2 separate regions of the Homo sapiens genome follow, and region 2 is linked to region 1. The links are contacts of gene promoters, found by promoter capture Hi-C in blood cells and fetal thymus (Javierre and others, 2016). All regions are on one chromosome and are shown on one strand. The core of a region is centred on a gene start or on the middle of the fragment in contact, and the rest is flanking DNA. Distances in the headings are between cores, read along the strand shown. Region 1 holds the start of SDCBP2 (syndecan binding protein 2). Region 2 overlaps LOC124904858 (a long non-coding RNA gene).

What was found. The method cuts DNA at HindIII sites, captures the fragments that hold promoters and counts their contacts. A CHiCAGO score of 5 or more calls a contact.
Region 2: a fragment that was not itself captured here is called in contact with the fragment with the promoter of SDCBP2 in region 1 in 1 of 17 cell types (naive CD4 T cells); the score reaches 5.8 in naive CD4 T cells.

The regions. Positions count from the first base shown.
Region 1 is chr20:1,327,078-1,334,001 of GRCh38, forward strand. SDCBP2 (syndecan binding protein 2) reads right to left here and starts at 2,062. Exons shown (of 9, transcript NM_080489.5): 1 at 2,008-2,062. The region is part of intron 2 of FKBP1A-SDCBP2 (FKBP1A-SDCBP2 readthrough (NMD candidate)); the gene reads right to left. All of the region lies in intron 1 of SDCBP2-AS1 (SDCBP2 antisense RNA 1), which reads left to right. The HindIII fragment of the contact is 15,880 bases long and covers 1-6,924 here.
Region 2 is chr20:1,733,262-1,740,185 of GRCh38, forward strand. All of the region lies in intron 2 of LOC124904858 (a long non-coding RNA gene), which reads right to left. Among named protein-coding and RNA genes, the nearest start is that of SIRPG, 79 kb to the left of the region's middle. The HindIII fragment of the contact is 3,460 bases long and covers 861-4,320 here.

The sequences.
Region 1 (6,924 bases), core at 812-3,311:
GCTGATGGCTTCCCACAAGTAATTGGTTCCTCCGAAAGGAAAAGAACCCACCTAACCCCTCTCTCTCAGAGGAATTTTCCTCTCCCACAGCCCTTTCCAGATTTCCATCCCTGAGCTTCTGTACTTTTTGATATAAGCAATAACAACACCCACAACAAACCAATAGCTGGGCTTCGGAGATCAGCAGGGCTGACAAGGGGACTTCAGCCCCCATCTTTGAACTTAGAGTGAGAACACTCTTTGGAACACTTTGTTCCAAAGAGCTGAAGTGATGGAACTCCCACTCGTTCCTGTGGACAGCTCATCCGTCCTTTACAAGACAGTGCGCGGGAGGGAAGCGTGGGTTAGAGTGTCAGAGGAATAGCTCCTGGAAGGCCAAATTAGCCCAGGGATGTGGTGAGTCGGAATAGAAGAAGCTGTTGCTAGGCCACCAGCATGTACCCCCACTCCTCCTCTCAGTGCTGCACTGCCTGCTGGGGAAAAGCTGTGACTTCCTCAAGCAGACACGCCTGAACCCAGGCCCAGGCAGGGCAGGGTTCAGACTGACTGCTTCTGACTTGTGAGAGCACAGCATAGGCAAATCCCCTTTGAATGTCATTTCTTCCTTTGTAATCTGGATAACAATAGTTGCATCACAGTTGTCTGGAGACTGAAAGATTTTTAAAAAGAGTTAAGGTGTATATGGAAAGCATTTAGCACAGCACCTAGCACATAATAGGCATTCAGTAAAAGTTAGCTGTTTATTCATTGTTTCAGCGCTTACTTACTCAGCACCTGCTAAGTCTGAGTACTGTTCTAGGTATCAGCAGTGAAGGAAAGAAGACTTGGTCCCCAAATGTACTTTCTTTGGGGGAAGAGCTGGATAAATAGGCTTTGTGACTCTGTGTGCTGTGTTAGATGGTGGGAGGCACTGGAGAGAAAGAGCAGGACGGAGGGTCATGTCAGGAGGTTCAGAAGCCTTGCTGGCTGGGTGGGGTGACATTTGAGGAAAGGCCTAATGGGGTGGGCACGGCCATTGCAGAGCCTCTCAGGTGGGAGTTGGTGTTGTGTTTAGAGGACATCTGCCAGTGAGAAGCCAGTTGTGCAGAGAGGGAGTAAGGAGGAGTAGTGGGGAGGAAGCTGGAGAAGTGAGAGGGGCCAGATCCTGGAGGGCCTGGAGGTCATGGTGAGGACTTTGGCATTTACTGTAGTGAGATGGGAGCCACTGGGGGATTTGTAGCAGCAGAGTGCCAAGGTCCAAGGGTTATTTTGACAGGCCTCCTCTGGCTGATGTTTGGAGGATGGGCTACAGGGCAGGAGTGGGAGCAGGAGCCCAGGTGGGAAGTGATGGTGGTGGAATTGTCATGAGCTTGGGCCACTGTACGTGAAGCTGCCTGTCCAGTGCTCGCCCAGCCCATACCAGGCTCGTTTTCTGCCCCATTTTCTGAGACCCTGCTGAGGAGGGCATGCACTGGCTCCTGTGTCCAGTATGTCCTTCCATTCTCCTGACTTTGTGGGCTATTTTCAGTCTCCAGATGAAGAAACCAGTTCTTAGAAAGGTGAAGCCCCTGGCGCAGTTCCCCAGCAGGTGTTTCAGTGCTGTGGCAGGAAGGTTTTTTGATAGAAACAGCCTCAGGCCAGAGAAGTCGGCCTGAGCTGTGGATTCCTTGGGAGAAATGGGCTTTTTGCCTGCCTGCAGCCTCTGGTTTCGGCTGGAATTGGCCTTTCAAGGAGCAAAGTGTGGATCTCATCTCCTTGAGCACAGTCATGGGCAGTCAGAAGGCATCGGGGGCCCTCATGATGTCTGGGTGAAGAAAATCACTCAGCCCTTAATCAAACTTGGTCCAGGGCTGGGATCAGAAGAAGAAACCCCACTTCACACTTGACTGCTTGGAGTGAAGCACTTCGAAAGGAAGCTGCCTGGGAAGTCCCAGAAGGGAAGGGGCAGGGAGGGAAGGGGACAGGGTGAGAGCAGGTCTCACTCATCCCAATCCCAGCCAGGATTGGGTCAGGGCCCCCAGCGCTTACCTGCAGGCAAGGTGCTGCTCCACGACCTTCTCCAGCTGCTGCCGCTGCTGAATCTGTTTCCCTCCCTGAAACGTAGCCCTGTCTCTCAGCTGGCTTCCTGATCTGGGAAGGGTGGTGCCTGTCCCCTGTTCAGCTGACTCACCTTGGACTGGGATGGGCACAGGTGAGGGCTGTGGCTGGGTAAACAAGGCAGGTTGCCAGCCCAGAGGAGGCCTTTGGCCTTAGTCTGGATTTGGAGGTGGGATTAAGGCCCTCACAGCTGCTGTTCAGACGGTTATGAACCAAGACTTCTTGGCCTTTTCTTAAATAGCTCTAAATTTGGGTTGGACACCTAGTCCTGCTGATCGAGGCAGTTGGCTAGAGGGCGGTTTGTGATAGGTATCTAGGGGTCTAGGCCAGGATATTAAAAAGTGGTCATATCCTGTGACCCAGCATTTCTTCTAGGAATTTGTTACAGTGGAGTCACAGGGCCCATCCATCACTGCTGCTTCTAGTAAGGAAAATGTAGAAATCCCAAATGCCCATCTCTGTGGTCTGCTTGAATAAATCATTGTCTGTGGAAGATCACAGAGCTATTAAAGTCACTTAAGGAAGAAGGTATGAGGAAACATTTCTGAGATTCTAGTGAGATGTTGAAAAATCAATATTGTGAATCTCTTCTTGCATTTTGTTTTCATTTTTTGTAAAGTGGATGTGCGTTGAAAGCAGTCTAGGAGGACATACGCTAAAATGCTGAGTATCTCTGAATGGCAGCATTGAGGGTGAGGTTTTCAGTTTGTACTTTTGTGTGTTCCAAGGTGGTTTTTTTTTTTTTAAGTTAGCTTTTGCTCTGAATGCTCATGACTTTTGTAAGGGGGAAGCAATTAAGTTTGATTATTTTAATGGGAATTTAGAGTGGTTGTCTCTTGGGAGCAGACCTAAGGAGCTGTGTGCTGAGGTGGAGATTTTTTTTTTTATGGCACATTTTTGGTGTCTTAAATTTTGAAAAGTTTAAATGTACTACTTATTCCAAAAATAATTATATAAATTTGAACAGAAAAGGAGGAAGAATTTAGTTTAGATCCTGGTGGGTTTGGTTGGGTGAGGGTGCCTGTCGCACTGGGTGCCTGGGGAGGGACGAGGGACTCGTGTGCTGGGCAGTCCCATGAGGATTGACGCTGTACACACTCAGGGTGTGTCAGTATCTGGGCTGCTTCCTGGGCCAGGCAGGCCTACGTCACAGTTCCCATGACCCACCTGGCAGAGTTGCACTAGCCTTGGGTGTCAGATCTTGTGCCTGCCAATGAAGAGCTTACAGCCCAGAGTCCCACACAGGAAACACACAATAGGAATAATAACAAGAAAGACATTTGCCACTAATTCAGCACTTACTCCCAGAGAGCACAGAGATTCTACCCCTGGCACTTTAAAGGCATTATCTCAATGGCTTCTCATGCCATCCCTGCAGAGTAGGTGTGACTCACACCATTCCTCCAGGTGGGGACACTGAGGCACAGAGGCAAAGTTTCTCTCTCAAGTTAGCTGGAAAGTGGGCCAAGTTCATGTCTTCTCTTCTATGGGACATACTGTTTCAGAAAGCTGAGGTGTGGGGCAACCTCAGAGTAAGCTGTGTGGGCCTGAAGCTGAGGTAACGTGGGTGATGGACCCACCTTAGGTCAGGTGTCCAAGGCCAAAGCAAAGTGGAAAATAGAGATCCTAACTAAACCAAGCCACTCCTCCCCCACCTCACTTCATTCAGTCATGACCTGAAAGGGCCTTTATAGAAGAGGGAGGAGGAAGCAGGCCCTTCCAGGTAAGGGGCTTGCCTGTGGTCCCAGCATGTCAGCATGGAGCCCAGGTCCCCTAACTCCCACCTATTTAATACCTACAGGGACTCTCTTTCTATTCCCTCTTTGGATAGTTGCCACCCATCACTGACTTCCAGCCACCTGGAAATATCTTTCATTGGGCATGCCCTTGCTCGAACTCTTCAGTGGCTCCCTCCTGCTTCAGGGTCTGGGCTAAACTCCCAGGGCTGACATGGAGACCTCCACAGCCCACTCCCTTTATTACCTCCTCAGCACTCCCCCAGCACCTCTGCCTCAGCTGGACTGGGAGCCCCACCATTCCTGCCCCACTGCACACCCACTTCCTACCTGCCCTGACTCCATACCTTTGCCTGTCCTGCTGCTGCCCCTGGAACACCTTCTCCTGCCCCCACCCACCTAGCCACATCCACCACTGAGCTCCTCCAGGAAGCCTCTGGGATCCCCCACATCCATGTGGCCTCTCCCGCCTCTGACTCTGGATCAGACGCTCCTGTTCCATTCTTTAATAATCATCATCTTGTACTCATGTGTACCTTTTAGGCTACTAGTTAGACCCTAAGTTCCCTGAGGGCAGGGCCAAGTTATTAGCTCTACAGTGGTCATTCTTTTGAGACAGCATTTCGCTCTGTCACCCAGGCCATAGTGCTGTGGTGCAATCATGGTTCACTGCAGCCTCCACCTCCCAGGCTCAAAGGATTCTTCCACCTCAGCCTCCCTATTAGCTGGGACGACAGGTTCACACTGCCACACCTGGCTAATTTTTTTATTTTCTGTAGAGACAGGGTTTTGCCATGTTGCCCAGACTGGTCTCAAACTCCTGGGCTCAAGCAGTCTGCCTGCCTGAGCCTCCCAAAGTGCTGGGATTACAGGTGTGAGACCCCACACCCAGCCAGTTACTCTTTTCAAAATAAGGAGTGGAACTGTGCTCTGACCAGACAATATTTCTGCTTTGTTATATATTTGTATGAACAAGTCTAAAACTTTGGGTGGCCAGTAAACAGCACACACTCAGAAACTCCCTGGTAGCACCCATGGCACCCTGAGTAATCAACCACTAATGTCCTTCCTGCTGGGCCCAGAGGCCTCTCCGGATCCTCTCGTCATAATGCTGCAGGCAGCTACCGTCACCTAGAGTTGGCTCATGAGGTGAAGTCTCCATGCCATCTGGAATGGGTGCTCCATGATGGCAGGGGCTTGTCTTAACCCTGAGGCCTAGTACTATGCCTGGCACATAGCAGGCTCACAGTAAATTTTTTTTTTTTTTTTGAGATATGGTCTTGCTCTGTCTGCCAGGCTCAAGTGATCCTCCTGTCTCAGCCTCCTACGATCCTCCTGCCTCAGCCTCCCAAGATCCTCCTGCCTCAGCCTCCCACAATCCTCCTGCCTCAGCCTCCTGAATAGCTGGGACCACAGGCGTATGCCACCACAGCTGGTTAATTTTTGTATTTTCTGTAGAGATGGGGTTTTGCCATGTTGCCTAGGCTGGTTTTGAACTCCTGGGCTCAAGGGATGTATCCACCTTGGCCTCCCAAAGTACTGAGATTACAGGCGTGAGCCACCACACCTGGCCTCAGTAAATATTGACTGAGTGAATAAATGCCCCTCCTAGAAAAGTCAATCACAGTTAGAAACTTAAATGGCTGACCCTTATTTAAAAGATGGGTTGGGCTGGGGCATCCGATCTGAGTCCCAGCTCTGTGATGTTGCACATGTTACTAAACCTCTCTGAGCTGTAGTTTCCACACCTACCTTCTTTATAGACTTATCCTGAAGACTAAATGAGGTAACCATGTGAAGTACCTAGGACACAGCTGGCATTTAGTAAATGTTAGTTTCCTACTTTCTCATGGCTACATGTCACAGAAACAGTCATCTGATTGGAGTGAAAATAGAGATGCTCTTCCCAGAAGAAGAGAGAATGTCGGCTGGGCAGAGAAGGAGCTGCTCTACACTCCAGCCCTCTGCATGGAATCTGGGTAGTGCAGCAAGACCCTGGCTTATGTCATCACAGCTTTGTTCCTACTGCTGAATTGAAATAATAACAGGAAGCGTAGCATTTATTGAGCTCCTGCACACTGGGTGCTCTGCTGGGCACTGGGCATACACTGATCTCATCTGTTCACCATAATTCCCAGCTTCAGAGTGAAGCACTTTGCCCAAGGCAACACACCCCAAGAGTGGTAAGGCCAGGCCTTGGCTCTGAACCTCTAGGAGTCTCCTACCCTAGTGCAGCTGAGTCACAGATTTCTCTTTAAGAAACCCACAAAGAAGTCCTTAGGTGGCAAAAATTTGATCACATGGCCACATAGAGCTGCATGGGAGACTGGGAAATGGAGGCAGTCTATTGTTAGCAGGTTCTGTGCCAGCCTCTACTATAGCATGCTGTGAAGCCCTGCCCTTTCTGGACCTCAGTCTCCGTATTTGGCCAGGGAAGAGTTTGGATGGATTTTCTCTGAGGTTTGCCCTAACGGTACTAAGGCCCCACAAAGGGCCAACTCTATTGCCACTTCCAGTCCCTCCTGTGGCGTGAACACCAAAGATGTCCACTATGAGCATTTGGTCTCCAAACACAATGTCCTTCATGCTATTTCTGAGCTCCATCTTGGTTTTGCTTTTTGGAGATGTGTGTGAGTTAAGGTAGGCCAGGTTATGCTGCAGCAACAAACAACCCTGAAATCTTGGTGGCTCCTAATAGGAAGTGTCATTCTCATGCACGCTACTACCCGTCAAGGGCTGGCAGGGTCCCCATGTCTCCTTACTCCAGGACTGGGGGTGATGGAGCAGCTGCCATCTCAAAGGCCGTCAGAAGCCACGGCAGAGGGAAAGAGATCTCTATCTGGCAATTAAGTGCTCCAGCCCAAATGACAGATGTCACTTCTCACACCTTGTTGGCCAGGTTACCCCACCTCCCAATCACAAGGGAACAGGGAGCTGCCATCCCACCACATGCCTGGAAGGCAAAGAGTAGGAAATATAGGAGGATGACATTAATAACAACCTCAGGCCTCTGTTCCAGAGTGTCTGCCAGCCAGCTCTGATCATCTGTGTCAGGGCAGGGGTAGCAGATGTGGCCTGGGAGGCTGCACCGAGCCCTGCTGGGACCTACATG
Region 2 (6,924 bases), core at 1,341-3,840, 410 kb after region 1:
GGCCATTTCATAGGATTTGGGTGGGTAGTGGAAAATTACAGTCAAAGGGTGTTTTTCTCTTGTGGGCAGGGGTGGGGGTCACAAGGTGCTCAGTGCGGGAGCTTCTGAGGCAGGAGAAGGAATTTCACAAGGTTAATCACCCAGTTAAGGTGGGGCAGGAATAAATCACAATGGTGGAGTGTCATCAATTAAGGCAGGCACCGGCCATTTTCACTTCTTTTGTGATTCTTCACTTGCTTCAGGCCATCTGGATGTATTCATGCAGGTCACAGGGGATATGATGGCTGAGCTTGGGCTGGAGGCCTGACAGAAAGCATAATGCTACCCTTAGATTACATAATGATTTAAAAACAATACACAGCAGGAAAAAGTAAAGGGTAATTAAATAAATTCTGGGTACATCCGTATTTTAATATAAATTGCACAAAAACCTTTTAATCTGAGGAATGCAATGCCCCTTTCAATTATCAGGCCCAGAGAGGCACTGGAATGAGAAAGCAGTCATGTCCCACTTCCCTCCTTCAGCTAAGTAACCATCTCTTGAGGCTGCTTGCCATGTGGACTCTAGACTGACTGATGCCCCAGGTAGATACAATTTAATGTAACAATGCCATATGTGGACACTATAAGTCATATTCTATAGTTAAATAACGTATAAAGGTTACTAATCAATGTTATTTTTGTAAAGCAATGAGAATTCCTGACAAAAACTTTTGTAATCATCCCCTCCCCTGGTTTGTCCTTTTTCCTTAAAAGCTCGAGTCTGTTCTTTATTCTCCAAAGTGACTTGGAGGTGTTTCCTGGGTTACAGTCTTCAAATTTGGCCCAAATAGACCTTCTACTTATATTAATTTTATCTAAGCTTCTTCTCTTAGGTAGACATGTCCGCTGTAGTCAGCAGGATTCAGAGGGACCTCCCAACACTGAACATGCTGCCTTCCCTCTTGGGCTCAGTGCTTGGTACCAGCATTAATGCACTATGTTCCTCAGACTCCAGAGGTTTCACAGGGTGTAAAAGGGTGAGTCCTCCTGAATTCAGATCTCCCTTTCTTTTTTGGTGAGGTTTTGCCTTTATTTGGGCTGTTCTCTCCAACTGCCTCTCTTTAGAATGGAGGTTTTGATCTCTGTCTATGGGCAGGAGATTCTGGTTTCAGGAATAAAACAAAAGATAACTGTCTCCTCTGCTGCTATTTCACAGCAGGTGTTCCAGGTCGTAGCATTGGCAGTCTACCATAAGTAGTTTCATTTCTTTTGGCCTAAAATTACATAGCATGCTGTTAAAATTGTAGCTGTTCCCTATTGCATGAAATTCAGACTTGTATTTTCATTTGTGACCAATTCCTGTTTGTTCAAAACCAAAGGAAACATGAGGATGAGTTCAATTCTCTCGAAGAGAATTGCATGAACAGCTGTTACATGCAGGAGAGGGACTCATGACTCACTGGTGACACTTTGTGGAGTGATGCTCACAAAGCAACACACTTTGACCTGATACACTGTCCTAGCCTTGGACACTTTTGAAAAGGAAATTCTAAAATTACGGGAAACTGCTGGACGAAACTGAGCTTTCCTTTAAGGGGCAACCATCCTTAGGAAGACCAGCTGCATTTATGTATAATACTTACTGTATTAGTCTGTTCTCACACTGCTATAAAGAAATACCTGACACTGGGTAATTTATAAAGAAAAGAGGTTTAGTCAGCTAGGTGCAGTGGCTCATGTCTGTAATCCCAGCACTTTGGGAGGCAGAGGCAGGGGGATCACCTGATATCAGGAGTTCAAGACCAGCCTGACCAACACGGTGAAATCCCGTCTCTACTAAAAATATAAAAATTAGCAAAGCATGGTGACACGTGCCAGTAATCCCAGCTACTCAGGAGGCCAAGGCAGGAGAAATGCTTACACCCGGGAGGGAGAGGTTACAGGGAGCTGAGATCGCGCCACTGCATTCCAGCCTGGGTGACAGAGCAAGACTCCATCTCAAAAAAAAAAAAGAAAAAAAAAAGAAAAGAAAAGAAAAAGAAAAAGAAAAAAAAAGAGAGGCTGGATAGGTGGAGCACAGGGATTTTTAGGACAGTGAAACTATTCTGTACAATACATCAATGGTGGATGCATGTCATTATACATCCATAGAGTGTACAACACCAAGTGGGTATATGGGAACTCCCTGTACTTTCTGTTCAATTTTTCTGTGAACCTAAAACTTCTCTAAAAAGTAGTTTAGTAGGTTTTTTTTAGTGTGTGTGTGTGTGTGTGTGTGTAAGTCCCTCTAGTAACCAGGCATGACGGCATCCACCTGTAGTCCCAGCTACCAGGGAGGCTGAGGTGGGAGGATCACTTGAGCTCAGAAGTTCAAGGACAGCGTGGACAATACAGCCAGACCCTGTCTCTTGAAAAAACAAAGTCTTGGCACTTCCAGAGCCCGGTGCTGCCGGCCGCGGGAGATGAGTGCCCAGTAGGGAGACTTCTGTGAAGCGTCCCGGTCCTGCGACGTCGCCCACCCGGGAGGAGGCGGCTTCTCGGTTCCTCAAGGCCCCCGGGAGTCCGAACCTCGGCAGGAGGCTGGCAGCGGCGTGGGGACCCAGAGGGCAGGGGCGGTCTGCGGGGCGGCCCTGGGACTCCCTCCCTCCCTCTCCTGCTGCGGCCGCCCTGGGATATGGGGGCCGTGGATGTGGGTCGCCGCTGGAGGTGTGGCCCTGGGTGGTCCATCCGGCCGCAGAGGCCCGTCCCCCGTTCACCCAGGCCGGTACCCTATGGAGCACCTATTACGTGCAGTGCTATTCTGGGTTCCTGGGATGCCACCGAGTGAGACGGACACACAGACTCTCAGCCCAGAGGGGAACCGTCCCTATTAATCAGGTATGATCCTCCCTCTGCCCGTCGCCTAATAACCCCATTGTTTCCAGACAACAGATCAACAAGTGCTTCACGTGCAGGCGGCCTGGCATGCCTGGCATCTTCCAGCACACTCCCCTTGGCTCTGCTACAGCCTTTTTGGCCTTTTACTTCTTGAACGTGTGGTTCCTTGGGTAACGATGCCCTCTTTGGTCTGGTTAATTCCCCTCCTTAGGATTTCTTGTATTAGGGCAATCCTTGCTAGTTTCTGTGTACAATTTGCCTTTTCATGGGTTTTTCGGACTACCACATACTCGTTCCTAGCACTTAGCACAGGCGTAACCTTACAGTTATTTGAGTGCAAGTTACACAAGAACAAGAATTTTTCCGCCTAATTTCTAGTACCAACCACATTGCTTGGCACAGAGTATGGTTCAATAAATATTTGTTGGCTGAGAGGCAAATGTATTTGTAATTATCATGTGAGATACCTGCTGTAAAAAAAAGGGAATACCTGCCTGGCAGATGTGACTTAATTTGCATCCTCCAGGATATGGTTTTTTGTTTTTTTTTTTTTTGTTTTTTTTTTACAGAGTCTTGCTCTGTTGTCCAGGCTGGAGTGCAGTGGCGCGATCTCCCATCTGCACTTACTGCAATGTCTGCCTTCCAGGTTCAAGCGATTCTCCTGCCTCGACCTCCCAAGTAGCTGGGACTACAGGCGCATGCCACCATGCCCAGCTAATTTTTTGTATTTTTAGTAGAGACGGGGTTTCACCGTGTTAGCCAGGATGCTCTCAATCTCCTGACCTCATGATCTGCCTGCCTCAACCTCCCTAAGCGCTGGGATTACAGGCGTGAGCCACCGCACCCGGCCAGGATATGGCTTTTAAGTTGAGATCTTCAGGGTGAGCAGAGCAGAAGTCTCCCTTGAAGCCAGGAGCTCAAGCATAGCCTGGGCAAAATAGTGAGACTCTGTTTCTCCAAAAACATATGAAGTTTAGCAGGGCATACTGGCATGCACCTGTAGTCCCAGCTACTTGGGAGGCTGAGGTGGGAGGATCCTTGAGCCTAGGAGTTTGAGGCTGTAGTGAGCAATGATTATGCCACTGCATTCCAGCCTGGAAGACAGAGTGAGACCTGACCATATACGTGTACATATATGATTATTACACAATTGGAGATTGAAATATAATCTATAATCAGTTTTTCATTTACTGTATTTGAATATTTGCCTATGTTGCAAAATATTCCACAATATGGTTTTTAATGTTTAGTTTATTTTTTTCCAATTTATACCAAACTGTTGGATATAAAGTTTGCATTTTTTGATATTATAAATAACTCTGCAGTGAATATGAGCTGAAATCTCAGATAAATTCAAGTTGAGATTTTTAAAATTAAAAATTGGTTTTAAAATTTGGATACTTAAACAGTATATATGTACATGGTAAGAAAAAGAGTTACCTAAGATTCTATGGTTAAAAAAGCTTCCTTGTCTAGGTGCGGTGGTTCATGCCTGTAATCGTAACACTTTCGGAGGCTGAGGCAGGCAGATCACCTGAGGTCAGGAGTTTGAGACCAGCCTGGCCAACATGGTGAAACCCTGTCTCTACCAAAAATATAAAAATTAGCTGGGCATGGTGGCACACACCTGTAATCCCAGCTACTCAGGAGGCTGAGGCAGGAGAATTGCTTGAACCTGGGAGGTGGAGGTTGCAGTGAGCCAAAATCACACCACTGCACTCCAGCCTGGGCAACAGTGAGATTCCGTCTCAAAAAAAAACTTCCATCTCTACTTAGACCCTCAGCCCCACTCTCCAGAGAAGACCACTGGTACATTTTCTAAATGAGAGAAAATCATATGCACTGTTCTGAACCTGCCATCTGATACTTAATAGAACAGATCGAAACATTCTTAGGTAGGTATTTCTGTGAAGGAAAAGTTGCAACAGTTTACACTCCCGCCAGCAGATAATGGGAGTCTGGTTCCTTGTACTTTCTCTAGCTTGAGGAATTATCAATTATCACTTTTTAAGTTCTCAATCTGATGGATAGAAAATTACATTTTATTGTTTTAATTTGCCATCTTTATTTACTAGAGAGTAAGAAGCTTTTTATATGCTTATTGGTTATTGATAGGTGAATTGATCACTTGCTATGGTTTGGATGTTTGTCCACTACAAACCTCATGTTAAAATTTGATCCCTGATATGGTTTAGCTGTGTCCCCACCCAAATCTCATCTTGAATTGTAATAGCCTCCACATGTCAAGGGTGGGGCCAGGTGGAGATAATTGAATCATGGGGCCAGTTTCCCCATACTGTTCTTGTGGTAGTGAATAAGTCTCACGAGATCCAATGGGTTTATAAATAAGAGTTCCCCTGCACAAGCTCTCTTGCCTGCCGTCATGTAAGACATGATTTTGTGCCTCCTTTGCCTTCTGCCATGATTGTGAGGCCTCCCCACTCATGTGGAACTGTGAGTCCATTAAACCTCCTTTCCTTTATAAATTACCTAGTCTTGGATATGTCTTTATTAGCAGTGTGAGAACAGACTAATACAATCCCCAATATTGGAGGTAGGGCCTAATGGCAGGTATTTGGATCATGAGGGCAGATCCCTCATGAATAGATTAATACCCTCCCTGCAGAGGGTGGGGGGGTGGGCACAGTGAGTGATTTCTTATGATTAAGAGCTGGTGGTTCAAAAGAGCATGGCATCTCCCCTGTTCTCTCTGTTGCTTCCTCTCTTGCCATGTGATCTCTGCACATGCCAGCTCCCCTTCCCCTTCTGCCTTGAGTGGAAGCAACCTGAGGCCCTCACCAGATGCAGATGCCTAGCCTTGATCTTTCCAGCCATCAGTCATGAGCAAAATCAACCTCTTTTCTTTTTAAATTAAAAAAAGTAAAAACAAAGTCTCTCTAGTAATATAAAATGATAAAACATAAAATTGAATCAGATGTAAAATGTGTTGTGGACCCCTGACGTTTTTGCAACACAATCAAAACCCATTTCCTCTCTCTTGCCAGCAGAGGAAATAGGTTTAGTTAAACAAGGATGTGTTTTTGGAGGGGTCATTTGGAAAGGGAAGAGAAATGATGGGAGGAGAAAACGATAATCAAACCTCTGTGGGAGAGAGGGTCACACAGATTTTAACACCTTTAACATGGGAAGTCACCATTCCCATCTACTCCCCATGTAGGCAGAGAAATGGGGAGAGGCAGAGGAGAAATGCCCAGAACAGGAGGGAATGGCCAGGAGTTGGGCAAGTCAGTTGGCCCCTCCTGGGCTCAGTTTTATCCCCTGTAAACCAGAAGTAGCAATACTTACCTTACACTCTTTTGTGGAGATTAAATAAAATAAAGTGTTTGCTATGCAATGATGCTGAATAAATAGTACTAATTGTCATACCTGATGCTTGGCAAACAACAGGAAATTGCTAAGTGTTGAATGAATCTTACTGTATGTTGTCAGTCACTGACCTCTGGCTTTTCCAGGTGCTGTGGACCTACTGACACTTTTTCTTATCTGGTATTGTAGAATTTCTCTTGCCTCTCCAAGGCCAACTCCTCCCTCTGGGATTCCTTTGGTCCCTCCCACTTGTTAATCCACAGAGCTGGCATCCTTATCATCAGTTATGGAAAGCCTATGGCTTGGTTTCACTGGAACAGTCTCGGGTTATACCTGTTGTCCTCATGTTTTGCTTGTTTGGGTATTTGTCCTTTTTGTTGTTGTTTTAACAAAGTATTATTGTCAATAGTTGCATTAACTGAAGCTGGGGTGGATTTAGTAAACTTCCACTTTGTACTTGCAGCTTCTGCCGTGCTCTCACCTTATAGGCTGTGAGATACATGTGTAGTGAGCGAAGTGCTTTTTTTTAGCACTTGGTCACAGTGTAACTAACCCCTTCTTTTTGAGAACAGCATGAGGGGCACTCAATGATAAAGCAAAGTGCAGTCTCATGCCAGCAGCCTAGAAAAAGCTTGATTAGATGGAAATCAGAAGACACAGATTGCCAATCACAAGAACCATCAGCATCTACTTCAAAAGTTAATAGCTACATTAAGAAGATGGCGCTAAAAGATAATG